2 separate regions of the Homo sapiens genome follow, and region 2 is linked to region 1. The links are contacts of gene promoters, found by promoter capture Hi-C in human tissues and cell types (Jung and others, 2019). All regions are on one chromosome and are shown on one strand. The core of a region is centred on a gene start or on the middle of the fragment in contact, and the rest is flanking DNA. Distances in the headings are between cores, read along the strand shown. Region 1 holds the start of COLGALT2 (collagen beta(1-O)galactosyltransferase 2). Region 2 has its middle 140 kb from the start of C1orf21-DT.

Region 1 (5,346 bases), core at 1,736-4,235:
TTTAAATTAGTTTTTTTTTTCAAATTAACTGTCTTATAACATCAATCCTATGCGGGGGGGAAACATCCAAATTCACATTACTGATTTCTGAAGAACTTATGAAACAAATCTGTTAGTAAGATGGGGACTTAATTTTTCCCAGGCTTCCCCTCCACTGCCTCCCAACCATATTTACAATGATCTTCTACTGTTGCATACCCTGTTATTACCTTAATATTCTCAGTCACTAAATGAGCACTCAATTAAAAGTTTTAAATAGGTGTTTTGTAGGTTATGTGGCTGGGAAACCCTTGATTTCATCTACAGAGCAGAGCAGGTTGTAGTTATTTTAAGAGAACTCCATGGAGCCGATTTCATTATAATGTCATTAGAGACCATACAGGTTTAGATGCTTCACCTTTCTTTGAAAAAATAGACTCAGATAAGCTGTTGACTTTAGGTAACTGTATTAGTCTGTCCTCACGCTGTGAATAAAGACATAGCTGAGATTGGGTAATTTATAAAGAAAAAGAAGTTTAGTGGACTCACAGTTCCACATAGCTGGGGAGGCCTCACAATCATGGCAGAAGGCAAAGGAGGAGCAAAGACACACCTTACATGGCGGCAGGCAAGGGAGCATGTGCAGGGGAACTGCCCTTTATAAAACCATCAGATCTTGTGAGGCTTATTCACTATCACGAGACTAGCATGGGAAAAACCTGCCCCCATGATTCAATTACGTCCCACGACACGTGGGGATTATGGGAGCTATAATTCGATGTGAGATTTGGGTGAGGACATAGGCAGACCATATCAGTAACAGAAGGAAAATAAGACAGAAATGTGGTTGCCTAGCTTTAAACTCCCTCTGTTTGCAGTAAAGTGAACAAATGATAACTATCAAACCAAGTTTGGCTAAGGAGTGCGGATTTTAGTATTGAAAGATGAGTGGGACATAGTTCAAGAAAGGGAAACAAGAAAGACAGAACAACATGGAGATTGTCTGGACCTTTCTAACAGTCCCATCACTACCTCCCTTGTGGAAATGACCACATCTTCCTCTATCCCTTCACTGTAGCTGGTACATCTGTTACAGTACTTCTAACAGATGTTTAACTCTCAGTCTTCCCTACAAGACTGTGAGCCCCTTGAAAGTGGGAACAATTCCTGAAAATGGATGGAGGGGAAGGAAATGTCTGTAGGCCATTCGATAAAAAAATATGAAGATTAGAGAAGAGATTAGAGCAGAAGACATAGATTTTGAGGATATAACCACAGGAGACCATATGGAGTGGGAAGACTAGCACACTATAGGGAGGCACACAGTGAAGGGGCTTGGCTCAGAGACAAGTAGTATCAGAGGAGATCTAGGATGGGAGATTATGTAATCGAAGTCCAGGAAGGTGAGAACGGAAGAGTTTACTGAATCTGCCAATGCTGAGGCCATCTGTTGGTTTTGCAGAACAGTGGGGAGGGCTGACGCCTTACTGCACTGTGGTGGGAAAGATGGGAGATGAAGAAGTGGAGAATACAAGTATAGATCTCTCTTCCAAGGAGCTTGGTCAAGCAAAGGGATGACTAGAAGAAGACACAGGACTTTTTTTTAAAGCTTTTCTTTCTTTTTTTTTTAACGGATAAGAGAAGACTGACCAAGTATTTAGCTTGAGAGAAAGGAGTTGATAGAGATCAGTTGAAGATTCAGTAGAGAGTGGAATGATAGAGAAAAATCATGGGCTAGAAAGGGAGACCTCTCCCTTTCTAGTCTGTGATCAAAGACCCTGTCGTGAGGAGGCACCTGCAAGTAAGAAAGGTCTTGGTAGGGATGCTAGTTGGAGACAGTGGTGTTGGGGGAGCTGGATGAAGGAGGTGATATACTTCAAAAGACAGTAGGGAAGACTTCTAATAGTTGCTGAGAAGGATTGATAACAACTAATAAAAAGACTATGGGACAGACCTGAGGGTGAGTTGGGATTGGAGATCATGAATGTGCACTGGCACCAAAACACCCTCCATACTTATCTATCAAAGGCTACACAATATATCTTCAAAACTAAATATCCAGCCGAGCATGGTGGCTGATGCCTGTAATCGTAACACTTTGGGAGGCCGAGTTGGGCAGATCACTTGAGCCCAGGAGTTCCAGACCAGCCTGGGCAAAATGGTGAAAACCCGTCTCTACAAAAAAAAAAAAAAAAAAAAAAATTAGCTAGGCGTGGTGATGGACACCTGTGGTCCCAGCTACTCGGGAGGCTGAGGTGGGAGGATTGCTTGAGCCCAGGAGGTCGAGGCTGCAGTGAATTGTGATCGTGCCTCTGCACTCCAGCCCCGGCAACAGAGTGAGGCCCTGTCTCAAAAAAAAAAAAAAAAAAAAAGTAAATCTCCTTTAGCAGTGTATGCCAGCAGTTTCATTTTATGTGCTAATTGTGTTCTTCCTTCACCCCTTCTTTTCTTCCTTATCTCTTCTCTGCTCTCCAACATGCGCGAATTTTCCCTCTTTGTTACTCTATCATATTGGCTTATTACGGAAAAAGAAAACCAGCTAAGTGAATTTATTCTTTCACAGCCCTCCTGTGAGGAGGCTTACTGGGTTCACAGTAGAGTGAGGCTTCAGGACAGTGTCTCCCAAGGGCTTTCTTTTATTTTGCGGGGTCTGATCTGGCTCCAAAATTCTCCAAGTCTTCAAACTTTGTGTTATTAGGTGTCTACTCAGTCAAGAATGAATTTCAGAAGTTGAGTATATAAGAAAATGCGACATGCTGCCTTTGCGGTGGTTAAACAAGTGTTTGTCATAATCGTGAATAGTTGGGGAGACTTTTCATTTTAGAACTCTACTCAGTCAATAGGTGCATTATGAAAACTGGATACATTGCATCACTGTGAAGGGCTTCAGTCTGCGGTTTGCAAAAGCAGAATAAATTTTCTTGGGGTTGTACCGTTATGTACACACACACACACACACACACACACACACACACACACTCACAGGCTCATTGGCAGACAGGGCCACAACTCGCGGCTCTAGGGAAGGCCACAGACCTCAGCTGTACGAGCGGAACCTGGACTAGAGGAACTTTCCTCAGGACTCAGGGCACACAGCCCCTCGGCCACTACTGTCTGCGAGCCCGAGGCGCAGGGGAGCGCCAGCGGCTGCAGGTACGCTGCGCACCCGCACTGGGGCCTGGGCGGTGCAGCGGCGGCGGGAGGGTCCTGGGAACCGCAGCCGCCGAGGCCAGTGTGTGAGCCGGCCGGCCGCGGCAAGCCGCATCCCCCGGCCGCCCCTCGCAGCCCCTTGCTCCCCGGCAGCCGCCGCCGCCCTCAGGCAGCCCAGCCGGGCGCTCGCGCCAGGACTTCCCCGCCGCCCGCCTCGGCCCGGAACATGGCTGCGCGCCCTGCTGCCACCCTCGCCTGGTCGCTACTGCTCCTCTCCTCAGCCCTGCTCCGCGAAGGCTGCCGAGCGCGCTTCGTCGCCGAGCGGGACTCGGAGGACGACGGAGAGGAGCCGGTGGTTTTCCCGGAGTCGCCCCTGCAGAGCCCCACGGTGCTCGTGGCGGTCCTCGCCCGCAACGCGGCGCACACGCTGCCGCACTTCCTCGGCTGCCTGGAGCGGCTGGACTACCCCAAGAGCAGGATGGCCATCTGGTGAGCGCGCACGGGCCCCGGGCCGCCGCGGCGGGACGCGGGGGCGGCCTGCCCAGCGCGGACAGCGCCCGGAGCAGCAGCTGCAGGGCGAGGGAGCCGCTGGAGGGGCGGGGGGGCACGCGGAAAATCTGGCGCACACACCCCCTCGCTGCCCGCGCCGGTGGCTGGCGGATCGGGCGGTCAGGCTGCGGAGGGACGCGCGGGTCAGTGTGCGCAGAGGGTGCTGATGGGGAGAACCGGACCGCTGGAGCTCTGGAGGGTAGCCTGCGAATTGGGGCTTTGTCCCACAAGGGGCATGGGGGACACCCCTCAAGGGGACTTTCAGTTCCCTCGCTTTTAACTCTCGAGGTTTCCTCTTTCCCCACCTCATACTGCTAGCCCTGACGTGAGGGGATAGGGTGCCTGTCGCCGTATTCCCATGTAGATACGACAGATGGAACGTAACTGCGGTTGGCCAGGGGCTCCGCAGTGGCTGGGGCGCCGCAGTGCGCTGCTCTGACTTTCCGGTGCCGGGCTCCTGCTCCAGGCTGGAAATGTGCTCCTAGCTCTCCTAGGGGGACCTGGACCTAGGGGTGGAGATTGGGCGGAGCCCGCGGAGTGTGCCCAACCATGGCACCACCGTGGGCCTGGTCTCCTGCGAGCGCTCCGGGCTGTCCCTGCCGGTGCATCGGGGTTCCACGTCCCGGGGAGAGACGAAGATGCCCTGGGAAAGATAAACAGCCAAGTTTTGTCCCCGGAGGAAAGAAGCTTGGACCTGGTCCCTGTGTCTGCTGCGGGGAGGGCCAGGGGATAAGTGCGGGTGCCTGCCCGCCCCACCTTGTAGAACTTGGTCGTCTCGCACCTTTTATAAACGCGAGGATCCGAGGGCGAGAAGTTAGTTGGTGGCCAGGTTAGCCGCTGAGTGGGTTGTGGAGGACAAGGAGGTGGATGCTGGCCAGGGGAGATGTGCTGTCAGGTAGGTACTCGGACAAGAAGACTCTGGCCCCCTGAGGAAGACAGAGCCCAGGTCACTCTGGAGCAATTTCTGTCTTGTGTTGATAAAGGGAGCTGTTCTCAGGCGAGACACATCCTTAAAGCAGCGGTTGGGCAAAGAGAGGAAGAGGAGTAAAAGCAGCAGCTAGAATTGGCAGCCTCAGAGTACCTGGTGGGAGAGGTGCAAAGGTGCGAAAGCAAACATGTGATATAGTACAGCTCTGTGCTGTACACTGCTTTACTATATACCCTGCCATACGTGACCGCCTGGCGGAGAAGGGCATATTATGTGGAAAGAGAGCACTGGGACAGCCAGGCTTTAAACCAGAAGGAAGGATTTTTTTTTAACCACTTCGGTACCAAAAGAAATTCACACATATCAGTTACCTTAGTTGTTGTGTTTTTTTTAAGAGATATTTTAAAATATGGTTTTGATCTTTATGCATGATTTAGTTTTTTAAAACGTTACAGTATTTACCATAAGAAGTTGGTGAGTGGTGAAGCAGGTGTCAGGCACATGCTTTGCTACCTGATTTAGAGACATTACCTCTTTTTATCATACAGTAAACTTTTAAGAGGATGCTATGATGTTTATTTTGCAAAGAAAGAGACAGACTTGCATCAGTTCAGTAAGTCACTTAAAGTGACAGAATTAATAAATGGTGAAACTGGAATTTGAACCCAAGGCCACCCTAAAAAGGCAGGAAACATGATATAAACAAAATTTACATAAGCCTATAATCTACAAATTAGGAG
Region 2 (5,346 bases), core at 1,475-3,974, 210 kb before region 1:
ATATGGAGCATCTACTGTTGGTGCCATCTATCTGTGTTGTGGGATGTGAACATGGGACTTCATCACATGCATTTTCTCTTGATGGATGAGTAGGAATGGAAGGGTGTGTTTGGGGAGTACCATAGGGAAGGTGGAAATAACAGGTGGCTGGGGAAAGCTTGCAAAAAAAAAAAAAATAAAAAGCAGAAAAAGGAGATTGAGGAATAATCCTACCAGTAGGGGAGGGAAGGTCTAATCTCTACTGCAAAGAGGACTGGAAGGCAAACAGAATCCCAGGACATGTCAAAGAAAAGAAAGTGATATGGTTTGGCTGTGTCCCCACCCAAATCTCATCTTTAACTGTAGCTCCCAAAATTCCCACGTGTCATGGGAGGGACCTGGTGGGAGGTAATTGCATCATGGGGGCGGGCCTTTCCCATGCTGGTCTCATGATAGTGAATAAATGCCACAAGATCTGATGATTTTATAAAGGGGAGTTCCCCTGCACATGCTCTCTTGCCTGCCGCCATGTAAGTTTAAGACATGCCTTCACTTCTCTTTTGCCTTCTGCCATGATTGTGAGGCTTCCCCAGTCATGTGGAACTGTGAGTCCATTAAACCTCTTTCCTTTCTAAATTACCCAGTCTCGTGTATGTCTTTCTTAACAGCATGAGAACAGACTAATACAGGAAGTAAAGATGAAAAGTAGGTAACTTATCAGAGAGAAGTGTGGAAATTCCTAGGTAAATGAATACAGACCAAATAGAGAAGAGGCATTTGTGAATTCAGCTGGAAAATTCTCAGGTAACCCAAGGATGATGTGATAAGGCCTGGCCTGGGGCCTGGGATATGATAAAATAGGGATGTGTATTGGAGACGTTTGGTCTGTTGGTTGCCTACCTAGATGTTTTTAACCCCTCTCCCCATCTCTTCCAAGTAGTATCCTACATTATTGTTCAAGTGTTCACCTTTCCCTCCTGCCTTATGTTATATATCTGGGAAGAAGCTCTTCTCACCCAAAGTTCTAGAGATGGGCTCTCATTTGCTTCAGCTGATCAACACCCCCCACTGCCTAGCCATGGTCATTGATTTAGCGATGGCTATGTGGCCTTTTCTGAAATGGTTGACAAGAAAAATATCTCTCCTGGATGGTTTGCTTTGTGGATGTAAAGCTTGAAGCAGTTCAGCCACATTGACACGATGGGGATGACAGCCTTAGGATGAAAGGCAGAAAAATCTGCTCATTGCGGACAACATTGAGCCACTGGATCAACCTTCTCTGAAGTTCAAACAACTCCTGAACTTATCAAATCTGACCTCATCATTAAGTAGCTAGAAACTGATAACAATGTTGTTGTAGCCCAGAAGGTATTACTAGCATAGTTAACAATGCAAATTTTACTCCCTTATTAGAAAATAAGCTCTGACCACATTATTTGGCACATAGGAAATGCTCAATTAAAATATCATATGCCTATAATCCCAGCACTTTGGGAGGCTGAGGTGGATGGATCACCTAAGGTCAGGAGTTCAAGACCAGCCTGGCCAACATGGGGAAAACCTGTCTCTACTAAAAATACAAAAATTAGCCAGGCTTGGTGGCATGCGCCTATAATCCCAGCTACTCTGGAGGCAGAAGCAGGAGAATTGCTTGAACACAGGAGGCAGAGGTTGCAGTGAGCCAAGACAGCGCCACTGCACTCCAGCCTGGGTGACAGAGCAAGACTCTATCTCAAATAATAATAATAATAAAAGTTTAAAAATGGAGGGAAAAGGCCAGGTGCAGTGGCTCTCGCCTGTAATCCCAGCAGTTTGGGAGGCCAAGGCGGGTGGATCACGAGGTCAGGAGATCAAGACCATCCTGGCTAACATGGTGAAACCCCGTCTCTACTAAAAATACAAAAAATTAGCCAGGTATAGTGGTGGGTGCCTGTAATCCCAGCTACTCAGGAGGCTGAGGCAGGAGAATGGCGTGAATGTGGGAGGCAGAGCTTGCAGTGAGCCGAGATCTTGCCACTGCACTCCAACCTGGGTGACAGAGTGAGACTCCGTCTCAAAAAAAAAAAAAAAAGGAAGAAAAAATCTCATTCCACTCAAGACATATTATTGCTAAAAAGAACCAAAGCTAGAAGCAAAGGTAAAATATCACGTTTGTATTAGCAGAGTGGTGATGCCGGGGAGGGAGGGCAGGGGGTGGCAATTACTGCCTTGAGAGTTAAGGAGGAGTTGAAAGAAAAACTTATTTGGAGTATGTTTTCTCCCAATCACTCTTTGTGGCCAGAGATAAAAAACCTGAGAAGATAGGAACAGTTATCAGTAAACGGGTTTTCTCACATTTTCTCATCTACTCTTTCAAATTCTATTTCTGACAGCCAGAGGCACACAAGAGGGGCAAGCTAGTATACTTCTCTTCCTACTTTTTTTTTTTAGGACAGAGGAAACTACCTAATAGAGAAAAGAAATTAGATAGGGTCATATTAGAGCTCACGTCTGATACTGACTCATCTAAGAAACCATCGTGGCCCCAAAAAGCCTCCTACTATTGGTAACTGCCTTCCCTTTTGCAAAATGGGGTCAATAAACTAATATAGTCTTGCTGAGATGTTTGTAAAATCTGAAAATATAAATTATTTGAGAAATATTCAGGTACTGGTTGGAGAAAGAAAAAATTATACCCTAGAAGGAATAAAAACTGCGGTTTCCTTGGTCTCATTTCTAGGACTTGTGTGCAAGGCTAATGTATAAGTTGTCAGTGACACCCAGGAGCCCATTGCTAATGATCCTAAACAAATTTTAGAAATCAAACAAGGCATCATTCTGGCTAATAAAGGAGGTCATAAAATGAATACACCAATTTTCAAGCTACCATTGTGTGTCAGGAAGATTTTTCTTTATGGGGTGAGCACATTAACTTTTATGGTGGTTGATTTCCTTCTGAGAGTAGTAGTGTATCCCATTTAGCAAGACTTTGTGTAGCCTCAAGATGTGTGTGTTGTGTTACTGGAAGATAGAGAGTTAATAAATATGATACAAATTAGAAAGAGTGGCTCATCTGTGGGGAGAAATAAATGAGATGAACAGGGTGATTAAGAAAGGAAGTAGCTTATTCAGTGACTCTGTACTATGGTAAGATCCTCTAGAGCTAGAAGGAGGCCTGGATGTAAGCAGCCGGAAGGCCAGAGATTAGCCACAAAGTAAATACAAGGAAGAATAAATGAAATGAATGAGGTGATTAAGAAAGAAAGTAGCTTATTCAGTGACTCTGTACTGTGTAAGATCCTCTAGAGCTAGAAGGAAGCCTGGTTGTAAACAGCAGGAAGGCCAGAGATTAGCCACAAAGTAAGTATCTGGTGACCTCTAGGGCTTAGCCGGGGAGAACAAGGGTCAAGCTTATCATGGAAGTAATTAATCAAAGGCCAGTTACTATATGCACAAAGTGTGTAAAGAGGCAAATGAGAGGATCTCTGCACTCCAGAGACTTATAATCTATTAGGGAGACAGATATGCACATAGAAAGATGATATTTCATACTCAATATTGGCAATTAAAGGCTAATGGAGTTATAGTCCTGATGTTGCAGGAGCTCAGAGGATTGCTCTGGGCTTGGGTATCTGGGGAAGGAGAAAGGCTATGGTTTTGAGCTAGACTTTACAGAGATAGTGCTAAAAGGTTGGGTGGGTGAGAATGTGTGCAAAAGGAAGTCAGAGAGATAGAGGGAAAAGACAGGAGAGATGGTGCCCTGTGGATTCTGGGACATCTATGGACTCCCTGCATATTCACAAATTGTTCCTTCATTTCTTCCTTTTAAACAACTATATTTTATGTAAGGGAAGATAAGTTCAATGAACAAAAAGAAGACAAAATGTTAAGGAGGCCTTCTAAAAATACTTAACAAGAACAATTCTATTGTGTTGGCTTTCTATGACTTCTATAATTATACTTGCTACCTCAATGCAAGAGATAGGAAAGAAAGAAAAAGTAGCTCTGACTATGACAGTAGCCCTTAGTTGACTAAAATGTGGCAGCAGTCATTCCTGAGAACTTAAGAATAGCAGTAACATCATTATCTGAGATTTGAATTCACTTCAGGCACAATAGAAAATATATTTTTTTAATTTTCTGGACATCTTAGGAGGATATTTTAGATCAGAAATCATGTTGAGGAATTAGACATTAAGCCCCAGGACAAAGCCATTCACATGTCAATCTTTGTTGTCATCTGTCCTATTGCCAACACAGGCCTCAACATTATCAAGCGGACAGAGGGAAAGAATGATAATGTGGAAATGATGACTATATTTTCTGGAAGTGTTAAAGATTGCAGAGATCTTTCCTGGAATTGCTGAATGGTTTCTATCTCCTTAATGAGCAACACCTTTTTAGGAAGGCAGTAGTTGATGTCATCTGGACTGTCGAGTCCTATTAAAGATGAGATCAGTATCAACTCAACTCCTTTTAAGGTAAAATCTTCTCAGCCCTTGGAAAGTTCAAGCCCAGTGTACAAAGCTTAAGTCATGATCTTATCCTTTTTATTTCTTCCTTCACCTACAGACCAGCCTCTGCCAACCTTCCTTCTTGGAGAATGGCATCACCATCCATCCCACGACCTAAGCCCCAAACCCAGACTCCTGTCTCTGCTGCCCACCCTGATCCCTGCTTGTCTCATGTCTACTCCCTTAGCATTTCCGCAGTCTGCCTCTTCCATCCATCTCCACTGCTGCTGCCCCTGGTCAAACCCTAACCATTGCTCAACTGGAATAGCATAACAGTCTCCCAACTGGCCTCCCTTGCTCTCCTGCAATGATTCTCCATCACAAACCAGGAGTTATCCCTCAAAAACACAATTCTGTTCATGGTACCCCGCTAACAAATCTTTCACTGCTTCTAGGATAGGGTTCCCACCATTCAGCTGGCATGGAAGAGTATTCACGATCTGGCCCTAGCCTACCTCACGAACCTTACCTCTTTCCACATCATCCATTTTCTATGCCCCACAGTCCAATCGGGCCAAATTATTTTCATGATCTCTGGACACATCCCACTTCTTCCTTCTTCATATCTTTGTTCAGGCTGCTCTTTCTGTCTGGAATGTTCTTGGTGACTGTGTCTACCTGACCAACAAAGCTTGTCTTTGAAGACTCAGCTCAAGAGTTTTCTATGAAGTCTTTCCAAGCTGCTACTGTAAGTAAGAAGAATCTTTTATTTTATTTTTTTTAAGAGACGGCATCTAATTTTGTTGCCCAAGCTGGAGTGCAGTGGTGTGAGCATAGTTCACTGCAGCCTCAAACTCTTAGGCTCAACTGATCCTCCCACCTCAGCCTCCCAAGTAGCTACAGGCACGTGCCACCAAGCCTGGCTAGTTTTATT

The links. The method cuts DNA at HindIII sites, captures the fragments that hold promoters and counts their contacts. A contact is called where the count stands out against the background at its distance.
Region 2: a contact is called between a fragment that was not itself captured here and the fragment with the promoter of COLGALT2 in region 1, in 2 of the 25 tissues and cell types used here (heart right ventricle and mesenchymal stem cells).

What each region holds. Positions count from the first base shown.
Region 1 is chr1:184,035,367-184,040,712 of GRCh38, reverse strand. COLGALT2 (collagen beta(1-O)galactosyltransferase 2) reads left to right here and starts at 2,985. Exons shown (of 12, transcript NM_015101.4): 1 at 2,985-3,618. The coding sequence starts at 3,356. RefSeq lists a silencer at 3,173-3,262. The HindIII fragment of the contact is 4,544 bases long and covers 646-5,189 here.
Region 2 is chr1:184,240,604-184,245,949 of GRCh38, reverse strand. No RefSeq gene overlaps it. Among named protein-coding and RNA genes, the nearest start is that of C1orf21-DT, 140 kb to the left of the region's middle. The HindIII fragment of the contact is 4,140 bases long and covers 655-4,794 here.